2 separate regions of the Homo sapiens genome follow, and region 2 is linked to region 1. Evidence: promoter capture Hi-C in 16 types of primary human blood cells and fetal thymus (Javierre and others, 2016). All regions are on one chromosome and are shown on one strand. Each heading gives the region's core, a stretch centred on a gene start or on the middle of the fragment in contact. The rest is flanking DNA. Distances are from core to core; before and after follow the strand shown.

Region 1 (5,517 bases), core at 2,120-4,619:
CATCAGTTTAGAATCTTATGTCTTGAGACTACCGCCTTGCTATTCTTCTCTGTTGCTGTCATTTATCCACCCTGGATGCCATATTCCAACCCCTCTGGACCTCCACCATATTCATCCTACCACCCTTTCACTGCCCCTCACTCCCTTCATGTTCTCTTTACCTAGTTCAAACTCCATGGTCAGTTATAACCACTCTTCTCTCACTCCTTACTATTCACTTGGGAAAACCTTAAACCTGGTTAAATCTAACTTTCCATGTCTATATTCACTAATGAAGGCTGAATTTCTACCACCTTAAACCCTCTCTTGATCCTCTATCACCACTGGTTACTGTCCCATGTCTGTGCTCTCCTTTGCAGCAAACTCCTTAAAAGAAATGCCTATACTCACTGCCTTCTGTTCTCTCATTCTCTCCAACCAGTATTCTGCCCATTGGTTTCTTCACTCATGCGCTGTTCCTGTTACTCCATGGAAACTGCTCTCATCTCCGTCACAGATGAACTCAGTGTTGCTAAAGCTAATGGTTAATTCTTGATTGCTTCCTATCAGTGTCACGTGACAAGGATCACCACTTCCTCAATCCTTTCTCATCTGGTTTCCAGGATTTGACACTGCTGATTTTCCTCCTTTCTCAGTGGTTTCTCCTTTACCATCAGCTTTGGTGATTCCTCGCTTCCCTCCCTGACTTTTTAATACTGTAGTGCCTTAAGGCTCAGTCCTGTATTTTATCCATCTCTACATTCACAGACCTGGTGGTCTCATCCAATCTCATGGCTCTAAATGCTATCTGTTACTGATAACTCCCAAATTGACATTGCTAGCCAATCTCTCTCATGAACGCCAGACATGCATATCCAATTGCCTTCTCAACAGCTCAACTTGGATGACAGACCTCTCACTTAGTATGTACAATTTCAACCCCTATACCTATAGTTACATTCCCTCAATTGACAGTAACTCCATCCTCCCAGTTATTAAGGTCACAAATATTGAAATCATCCTTGTCTCACTCCTTCACACCCTATATCCAATCAGTTATTCAAAGCGTATCCAGAATCTAAGTACTTCTCATTATTTCCATTGCTGTAACCAGGTCCAAGCCACCCATCTCCTTCTTTAATTAGTGTAATAGCCTCCTATTACACTGGTTTTCCTGTTTCTATGCTTGCTCTCTATAGGCTACTCTGAACACAGCAGCCAGAATCATTTTTTAAAAAACTTAAGTTGGATCATAGCACTCCTATGTTCAAAAATCCCCCAATGGTTCCCTATATCACTCACAACAAGAGCCTAAGTCCTTAAAGTGATCCACAACTTCTTACGCTACTCTCATCCTGCTCTGCTCTGGTCACACTGGCCTCCTTTTTGTTCCTTGATAAAATCAGGCATGTTCCTGTCTTAGGTCCCCTTCACTGAACGATCCTTTGCTCGACTCTCTTACCTCATACCCTCATATGTACATGGCTCACTCCCTCACCTCCTTCAAATCTTTACCTATTAAGGCCTTTCTCAGTAAGGCCTGCCATGATCACCCTATGGAAAACTGCAACTTCCTCCCAGACCAGCACTCCTGATCTTCCTTACCGTTTGCTTTCTGTTGCAGAGCACATTTTAATACAAGAATGAATCATTATATTTCTAAATTATAGTCTAAATTATAGCCCGCTTCTCTCATGAGGCTCTGTGCCTCATCCCCACTTTCCCTATATTCATTTTGGACTTCATCCTTGAGAGTGTTAAGGTCCTTACCTAAGATTCCATTCCAAGTACTGAACAAAACTTTGGGTAGGAGTGGGCAGTAATAACATTTTTTTTTTCTATTGTCAACATCCTTGGGTGAAAGATAATAGGGCAACTAAAGACTAAAATGAAATTGTAAAGCTGCACCTAGGAATTATATCTCAAACAAGATAATGCAGAATTCTGTGTATAAGCCAGCACGAAATACCATACAATTGTTCCCTTCAAAGTAAGTCTAGCAGCTCTAAACAATTTTAATTACATATTAAATAGAAGAGAAATATAAAAAATTGTCCACTAAAATAATCTATATACTTTCTATTTAATAAATAATAATTTTCACTAAAGCTAGATTTATCTCTAAAGCTAAAATAAATTACGTAATCTGAACTTTAAACGTTTTAATTTACTATTCGGCTGTTTATCAATGGTGTTTAAAACCTGCCTAAAAAAATACCGCACTTTACCTAGCACAATGAAACATTCTCCTGCACTCATCACTGACAAGCTGATCTAAGTCCTTGCCACTGACTTACAATACCCTTCCCCCGTTTTAAAATTATATCCCTTACTTTGTCATAAATCACTTTTATAATGAGAGAGCAGCTAGGACACGTTGCCACGTCTTCCCCATTCTCCAAATCTTCCTACAACGAAATCAAATACCATGTGGTCAGGATAGCTTCTCTTCGCCATCTCCTCCCCCAAACCTATCCCACCCCTAGATGCAAGTCTCTTGGTGGCTTGCCTTCCCCCCAAGGTGGGTGAGAACCCCAGGGCCTTCAGCGAGAAATGCCGACATCATTTTCCCCTAGAAGCGTCACTTAGGGGAAACACCTAGGAAGGTCAGGCGAGCTTCGGTCGCCCCAAAAGCCCTGGGAAACAAAAAACGAGTCCCCTCCTCGACAGAAATATCCCAGGTTGGGACCCTAAGGCAGGGATCGGGCAGAGAGACAGAGGCTCTCCGCCACCCTCTCCCTGACCTAATCTAAGGCCAGAACTGCGTGCCTACCGAGAGAGCTCAGGGCATTAGTTGGGGTGGGGGGACGCGGGAGGAGGAAGATTCAGCAACGGGAAAGAGGGCGTGGGTGACACAGCGCAGCAAAGGCTACCCAATGATGGAAGGAACGGGCGGAACCAAACTGCGCTTGCTTGGGTGAACCGCCGGGCGGGACCCTGAAGTTACCTTGGTGATGGAGAAGTTATCTCCACATGGGCAGGGATAGAAATACGTCTCCGAGTCCTCGTCATATTGGAAGTCCTCGATTTCCACCTCGTCATGAAACACTGCCATGGTCAGCGGGGGTGGCCGAAGGGGTAACGCCCCAGCAGTCCGAGGCCAGCTCCGAGGGTTTAACTTCGCCGGAACCGGCCTGGGCTCGGCATCATCAGGTCGCGCCGGGCAAGGACTAGCCCTTCCGGCGCATAGGCAATGACGCAACTCCGCCCTGCGCGGCCAAATGGATAACCGGTAGCGGTCACCATGGAGATGGCTGAACTAGGGGCGGAGACACTGGGAAGACTGAAAGCTTGCTCAGCGGGGTCGCGCACCGCTCCTCCTATTGGGCGGCAGCGACCAATAGAATGTGGGGCTCGCCCGCGCTGCTACGTCACGTCTGGGACCGCGGAGTATTCCAGGCGCCTGCAACTAAACGTGGCCGGGTCTGCAAGCTAGGTGCCAGCGGGGAAAGTTTCCCTGCTTCTTATCGTCTGCTTTAACGCCTTAAATAGCCCGCTGAAGGCTGCAGCAGGTGCTAGGTAGCAGCCTCCCGGCCCTCGGGAAAGGCGGGGTGGGGAGGCGAGAGCAGCTTAGCCTCCTCGACCTCCCTTCCTGGTGACGGACGAACAGTTCCCGTAGAATTTCGCTTCACCGAGTGACCTTGAGCCCAGGGCGACGGTCAGCTTGTTAATTCCTGGCTGCAGGTACATTCCGCTTCTTCCTCACCCCAGACGCCTTAAAATACCCTAAATTGTGTTGCTGAAAGGACCAAGCCCTGGAAGGCAGGGATTGAGTTCTAGTCTTCTGTTTGCCAGGCTTATAACATTATTAACGACGATGATTTTTAGTAATAGTAATAACATCACCTTTTATTATTGGGAAGTTATGTGCCAGCTATTGCACTAAGTGGAATTGTCAACTCTAGGAGTTTACATGTTATTCCATTTTATTAATCTTTAAACTGAGGTACAGAGAGTTGGGCATCTTGACTAAAATCATACACCTGGGAAATAATGAAGAGCTTGTCTGTCTCCAAAGCCCAGGAACAAATTACTTATGTGAGTACCAGTTTTTTCGTTGTGAAAGAAATGGTGTCAGTAGGCAGGTTTATCAGTGTGAGGCCTATGTATGCCTTGAAGCGAAATGCAGATAAAAGGCATTTTTGTCTTGAAAGCAGTGCTAGTGCCTGTTTTGGTAAAACCGATTACATTGGGTCTTACTTAATTACTAGGCATTTTAATATCTTAGTAGAGAAGAAATGCATTGTAGTGAAAAAGCACTTTCGAGAGAAGATCTGGGATCGGAATCTTGAGTTGTTGATTACCTCTGGCAACTGGATATTTACATTCTTTGGGCCTTATTTCCTCTTCTAAGAAAGGATTGGAGTAGAGATGATATAAGATCCTTTTTAGATGTAATGTTCCACTTTTGCACGGAAATTATGAGCTTTACTTGGTTCAGCAATGATATATAACATTTAGTTTACATTTACGTAACACATATACATAATATATCCCTGTGCACTTTTGAAGAAAACATTACAATGACTACTAAACTTTACATTTATTCCTAAAAGGGCGGATCACGAGGTCAGGAATACGAGACCAGCCTGACCAACATGATGAAGCCCCGTCTTTACTAAAAAATACACAAATTAGCCAGGTGTGGTGGTGTGCCTGTAATCCCAGCCACTCAGGAGGCTGAGGCAGGAGAATCTCTTGAACCTGGAAGGCAGAGATTGCAGTGAGCTGAGATCACGCCACTGCACTCCAGCCTGGGCGACAGAGCTAGACGCTGTCTCAAAAAAAAAAAAAAAAAAAAAAAAGAAGTAGGTCATAATTGTATAATGCAAACTATATTTGATGAGTGCTGTTGTATATCAGGCCAGAAGGAGTTGTTTATTGGCAATACCAAACCTCCACCTCTCTAGGTTGTTTGACAAGGAAGAGAAGGGGTCAATGTATTAGGATTGATTTTAGTAACACTGTTGCTTGCCAGGTACTTTGGTAGACATTTTATTTATTCCTCTCAGTAATCCAGTGAGGTGGCGTGGGTAATGTTAAAATGGCAAGAGGAGACTTGCTGAAGATTAGAAAGCAGGAAGGAGTCACACCTGAGCCCAGTTCCGCTGATTTCCGGTCAAATACTCTGTGTATACTACTTGTTTACCACTAAGGTGTCTTTGCCTGTTGGAGCAAGAGGAGCCCTTTTTCTTCCTCAGTGACACCTAAGATTCTAAATTGACAGATGTCATGATTGTTCTTTGAACTTACTTAATTTCAGTGCATTTATGCTTATTGAGGCATTCTTGGCTTTTCTCTGTCAGTGTCCTCTCACACCCTGCCTAATGTATCAGCAAGTTTTGGGGCTCTAATTCCAAAATATATGTCATGTTCATCTACTTCTGCCATCTCTGTAGCTGTTACCTTATTATAATCTTAGACCAGAGTCTTTTAACTGGGTTTCCTGCTTCCACTCCTGCCCCTCTCCCTCTGTTATCCTTCCCACAGCAACTTGAGCAGTCCTTTAAAAATATAAATTAGGTCTTGTCCTTCTCC
Region 2 (5,517 bases), core at 1,359-3,858, 1.1 Mb after region 1:
TAAGCAGGCTTTTAAGGTCAAGTTACATACTACTTATGTAATGAAGGATAATTATTTGTTAGCTTAAATAAGACCCTGTACCTTGATTACGGTGTTGGTATAGGGAAAAGAAGACTGAGGCATGTGAATTGGAAACATTATCTCTGAAATTTACAATCATTTAAATTTATTCATGGGTACTTACAGTTCTAATTAAGGCATAACATCTCAAACTGATGAACGGCTCTAACAACAGAGGAGCATAAAGGCCACATAATAATATATTAATTGTCTTTCATTTCTATTGAATAGTGTTTCATCAATAAACTGTAACACAGAGTAAATATAAACATTTATTAAGCGCCTACTATGTGCTTAGCACTCACAGGCATATTTTTTAAAACATACAAAGTTAAAGAGTGGACAGATGGATGTGTAAACCAATAATAAAATGATTACTGCAAAGCACTCTGGTAGTACAGAGGGGAAAGAAATGGTTTGATACTTCAAAATTAAAACTTAGGATATAAAATAACAGTAGCACCATAGCCACTGAAATACTACTGCAAAGAATTGAGTAGAAATGATTACTGCAAAGCCCTCTGGTAGTACAGAGGGGAAAGAAATGGTTTGATACTTCAAAATTAAAACTTAGGATATAAAATAACAGTAGCACCATAGCCACTGAAATACTACTGCAAAGAACTGAGAATCAAACATTAAACAGATTCCAGAGGGTAAACTGCTGAAAGGTTTAGCCCTTCTAGGGGAGAAGGATCAAAATGAAGGTTTTTTTACAATCACAAATATGAATGGTAGGCCTGCTCCTGAAGTTGGAGGAAGACATGATTAACAATAGAAAATATTGAGGTGTCAGTGGTGAAATATTTCAGTTTAATTTAAAAAAAAGTAGTTGCTAAACTTATTCTTACATAAAAAAATATACTTACAATGTGCCTGAAAAGCAAAAATCTGACAATAATGCCATCGAAATGCTTTTAAAAGACCCACTTATGATATAATATTTTAGGTAAATCACTTAGGGTATATATTTTTAACCCCTCTTTATGAATGAGGAAAGTAAGGTTCAGAAAAATTGAATAACTTGTCAAGAGAATAAAGAAATGAGAAATAGGAAAGACATCTTTCTGGAATAACATGGAAGTAACCACTAAAGGGAAACATGATTCTCCAGACACCAAGAGCAAAAATGACCTCTGGCAACAAGGCAATATAGAAATATACCCTTGTTTTCTTCCTCAGATTTTTAGTTTTTGAATATCAAGCCCATGGACATGCAGATAACTTTTTACTAGTTGGACTGAGAAGATAAGTTAACAACAGTCCCTGTGAGTAGTTAAGAACCTGGGTGTTTAGGTGTGCAAAACCTTAAATGGAATGGATTAGCCACCTGGACCTTGAAGATTTCCTTAACAAAGCATTAGTGCCACCTAGTGGCAATTACTCTATCTTGCAGATACTTGGTCCCTGAAAACAATCAGCATCTAAGCAGGGAAAGGTGAAGATGAGTAGGTTTCATTTCTCAGGCCAATGTTAATAGATCAGTACTGGCTGCCTTGGAAGCACCATGCTGAGAAGGACTCTGAGCTTACTGGTGTGCTCCTCAGGAAACAACACTGTAACTTATTAAATATGTAGGCCATGATTGATGCAATTATTTCTCAAAAAATAAAGTCAACTTCTGCAGCAGGAATTGATACCTTCCCTCTAAGACCTATTTGGGTAGTTAAGCTTCCTGCAATGGCTATTTTGACATGGAAAGCAATCAGAATATGTAGTGGATAAATACAGCTGATGATTATAATGAGATTATCTATTTGTAATTATATATTTTAACATATAATTAAATAGTAGTTTCCCAAGATATGCTCATAACATTGGTGTGAAACTAGTACCTTCTAAATTTGTTAATATCTTCTAAATTTAATAGTTGAAATACCTTTATAACCTACATGATGACTAATAAATTACTAAATTATGTGCTAATTTATGACTAGAAGGCTTCTGAATCATTGTCCCAAATGGTGATACACTATGGAAAACACTAATTTTACACTGTATAGGTTTATATGATGGTTTCTATCCCATTTTTAAGCTTAACATGGAAAGGAAACAATGTGTTTGTGGGCTAACTTAAGAAATCCAAATGACTACAATAATAGCAAAGAGTTCAGGGCCTACATACAGTTTAAGACTGAAGATCTCTAATCATTGGTTAAGAGGAGCTACTTAGGCTTCTACTGACAATGAAATTGCTGAGTGGTTAAGAGAAGGGATTCTCACCTTGGGGAAAGCCAAAAGTCACAGACAGTGGAAGAAAAAAGAGATAAGGTAGAAAGTTGCTTTTAGCTCTCTGGGAGGTATAGTGATAGGGAAGTGCAGCAGACAGCTCTCAGAGATGATCATGGAGTTTACAAGGTCAGCCAGTCAACCAGATCATTTCATTGCAATTCTAAGTAGTAAGATAATAGAACAAAGTGGCTACAGCAGGATGAAGCAGGATTTAAGTAGGATTAGATCAGGGTTAGATGGGTAGAATATCTGAAGCTGAGGTAGTAAAAGGTAAGAAAGCTGAACTTGATTCAAAAAGATTTATACAATTTCATAATCCTAAAGTACATGCCAATATTTTTAAAAATTGCCATATTTAGTATGATCCATTTATTTTATCAAAAAGGAGCCAGTAAATTTTTGAATCTGTTTCTAATCTATATCAAAATACATTAGTGAAAGATTTCAATCAATGCCAAGCACTGTACCATAATTCCAGTATTACATTTAAGAGTATATACTTTTAGGCCATTTTAAAGGTATGATTTTGAAAATACTATTCAAATAGAACAAGTAACATCTAACTTAAAATCAATGGAAATATGAAAAGTGTAAATTAGGTATGTCAGCATAAGACTGTAAAGTGTGGCACCAGATATGGGTAAGCTACAACATTAGGACTGCAGGTGCCAAGATCAACCAGATAAACACTGATGTTATCTATAATTACCTCATTTTTAGCTTAAATCACAGGTAATGAGGGAACTCACGAGTCTCTAAAAGGCAATTACAAACTGTACTGGCTTTTTTGCTTCCTGTACCACGAATTTTCTAAAACTTACTTTTATTTAAAGCTTTTTTCTCCTCCATAATGAAACATCAGGGCATATCTCTTATACATAAATATATATAAAAAAACAGAATGCACAATTACACACAAGCTTAAAATGTATTTTTTCATATGTCTAGGTGAAACATGTTATCATATGATAAGGCTCCACTGAAATACAGGTAAAGAATAGTTCATTGCCTAGAGGTTTGTTAAAATTACGGTCATGTTTTGATTCAGGTTTGAACTGAACTTTAAATTGAGAAACCTTGAGCCTTCACCTTAGTTTTCACAGGAACACAAAGAACTGAGTTAAAACAGTTAGTTAGGGACTGTCAAATATAATACTCTCCTTTTTATTATTTATTTATATATTTTTTGAGACAGAGTCTCACTCTATCGCCCTGGCTGGAGTGCAGTGGCGCTATCTCTGCTCACTGCAAGCTCCGCCTCTGGGGTTCAAACCATTCTCCTGCCTCAGCCTCCCCAGGTAGCTGGGACTACAGGCACCCACCACCACGCCCGGCGAAATTTTTTGTACTTTTTTAGTAGAGACGGGGTTTCACTGTGTTAGCCAGGATGGTCTCGATCTCCTGACCTCATGATCTGCCTGCCTCAGCCTCCCAAAGGGCTGGAATACTCTCTTCTTTAAAGGAAAAAACAAAACAAAAACAAACAAACAAAAAAACACAGGCATTATTTTCTTAAAAATACAGTGTGTAAGAGCTTCCAAATCCAGGGTCATATTAAAGTAGGTAAACTCAATAATCATACTTTAAAAAAGGAAACCAAGAAAAGCAGTATCACAAACTTTTTGATTTTATAACAAGCTTTTCACTTTTAATTGTATTAATAATTTAAATATATGATAAACATAATTAGATTAATAATAAAGGACTGGCATTTAGAAATGAAGTGAGAAAAGGATCCTATACCAGCAATCTCTGTGAAGTTGTCTGGAGTAAGTATATTTTATATTCCATGGTTTACTCATGCTTCCTCTATAATTAATAAGGAAAAAATCCTCTCCCTGCAGACCTTTCCTACCTTCTTCCCACCCTCACCTCACCTCATTTACTTTGATATTTGCAATAACTGGCAAGGGCTTGATATCTAACATTCTATAACATGATAAAGAATTTGCCTCACAGTCTGCAAATATAAGCCAATACTGTAAAGGAAAGGCTGGTAGAATAGAGAATAAATTACTTTCCAGTTATTTATAAATAGACATTTATTTAGCGAAACCTGATGTCCTAATTAAAAGTCAATCCTATGACTTAAAGCATGTTTTCCAATAGTGTGTTGACTAACAGGGTATTACCAAACAGAAATACATGTGTGCTTAAATACTTTCTCTAAGAAATATTAAAATCAATTATATTTTAACTGAATCCATCGTTCACTTTACAACCTCTAGATGAGCACTAAGCAAGTAAACTTTCCGAGATGACAGAAATGTTCTACATCTGACTCCCCAATATGGTAAGCACTGACCATACATAGTTACTAAGCAGTTAAAACATGGCTAGTTGCAGCTGAAGAACTACATATTGTATTTTAATTAATTGAAATCCAAATTTAAATAGCTTCATATTGCCAGTAGTTCCCATATTGGACAGGGAAGCTTAAAATGTTAAGGATGGCAACAATTCACTCATAATACACATTCAATTTTTAAAGTAACAACTATAACGTTTCAAGGGCTATAAATATACAAGTGATGCATACTCATATATAACTGGGGAAAGCAAACAAACATTAAAAGTTAAATAATACATGTGGTTAAATAAGTCAACTTAATTCCATAAGAGAGGTAACATGGCATATAATTATTCTAAATAAATGGTGCTACCAATAAGACTATTAGATATGGATATAATCTTTTCTTTTTCTTTCCCGTGTCTATCTCATTGACTCTCCCTGTGGTTTCTGTTTCTATCACTCCCTTCCCCTGCCTCCACCCACATTCCTTTTTTCACACACATACCTGAAAGTTAGAAAGGCAAATCTTTAGTGATGACAGGGTCATTTCTATTGGTTACCCCAAAATGGTCAATGCTGGAAAGAACTAGACCCAAGATTTGGATCACGAACGTAATATAATCATATTCAGTAACAGGCTGGCTAAACAAACCTGGAAGGGACAATTTAAAATGAAGATAAATGGGCCATGGGATAAACTTTTGTTTAAAGTCAATTAAGTATTTTAAGTACTGCTTCCCTGTGGTAAGGTGGGGGGAAGGGTAAGAAGGCAATAGTAGTTATTTTGGAGATTGTAAGTTTATTACTGTGAACTGAACAAAATACATGAGAAGTTTGTGTCTAGATCTACGAAAGTTGAGCTATGCTGTTCAAGAGACCTTTAAGATTTTTTTGACATTTATTTTTTATTATTTTTTAATTATTATTATACT

Evidence for each region. Contacts are between HindIII fragments. The CHiCAGO score rates a contact against its expected background, and 5 or more counts as called.
Region 2: a fragment that was not itself captured here is called in contact with the fragment with the promoter of OXNAD1 in region 1 in 1 of 17 cell types (fetal thymus); the score reaches 6.7 in fetal thymus.

What each region holds. Positions count from the first base shown.
Region 1 is chr3:16,261,843-16,267,359 of GRCh38, forward strand. OXNAD1 (oxidoreductase NAD binding domain containing 1) reads left to right here and starts at 3,370. Exons shown (of 9, transcript NM_138381.5): 1 at 3,370-3,663. DPH3 (diphthamide biosynthesis 3) reads right to left here and starts at 3,101. Exons shown (of 3, transcript NM_206831.3): 1 at 2,927-3,101; 2 at 2,313-2,387. The coding sequence starts at 3,034. RefSeq lists an enhancer at 2,933-3,242. The HindIII fragment of the contact is 2,642 bases long and covers 3,268-5,517 here.
Region 2 is chr3:17,411,695-17,417,211 of GRCh38, forward strand. The region is part of intron 4 of TBC1D5 (TBC1 domain family member 5); the gene reads right to left. Among named protein-coding and RNA genes, the nearest start is that of TBC1D5, 330 kb to the right of the region's middle. The HindIII fragment of the contact is 1,030 bases long and covers 2,094-3,123 here.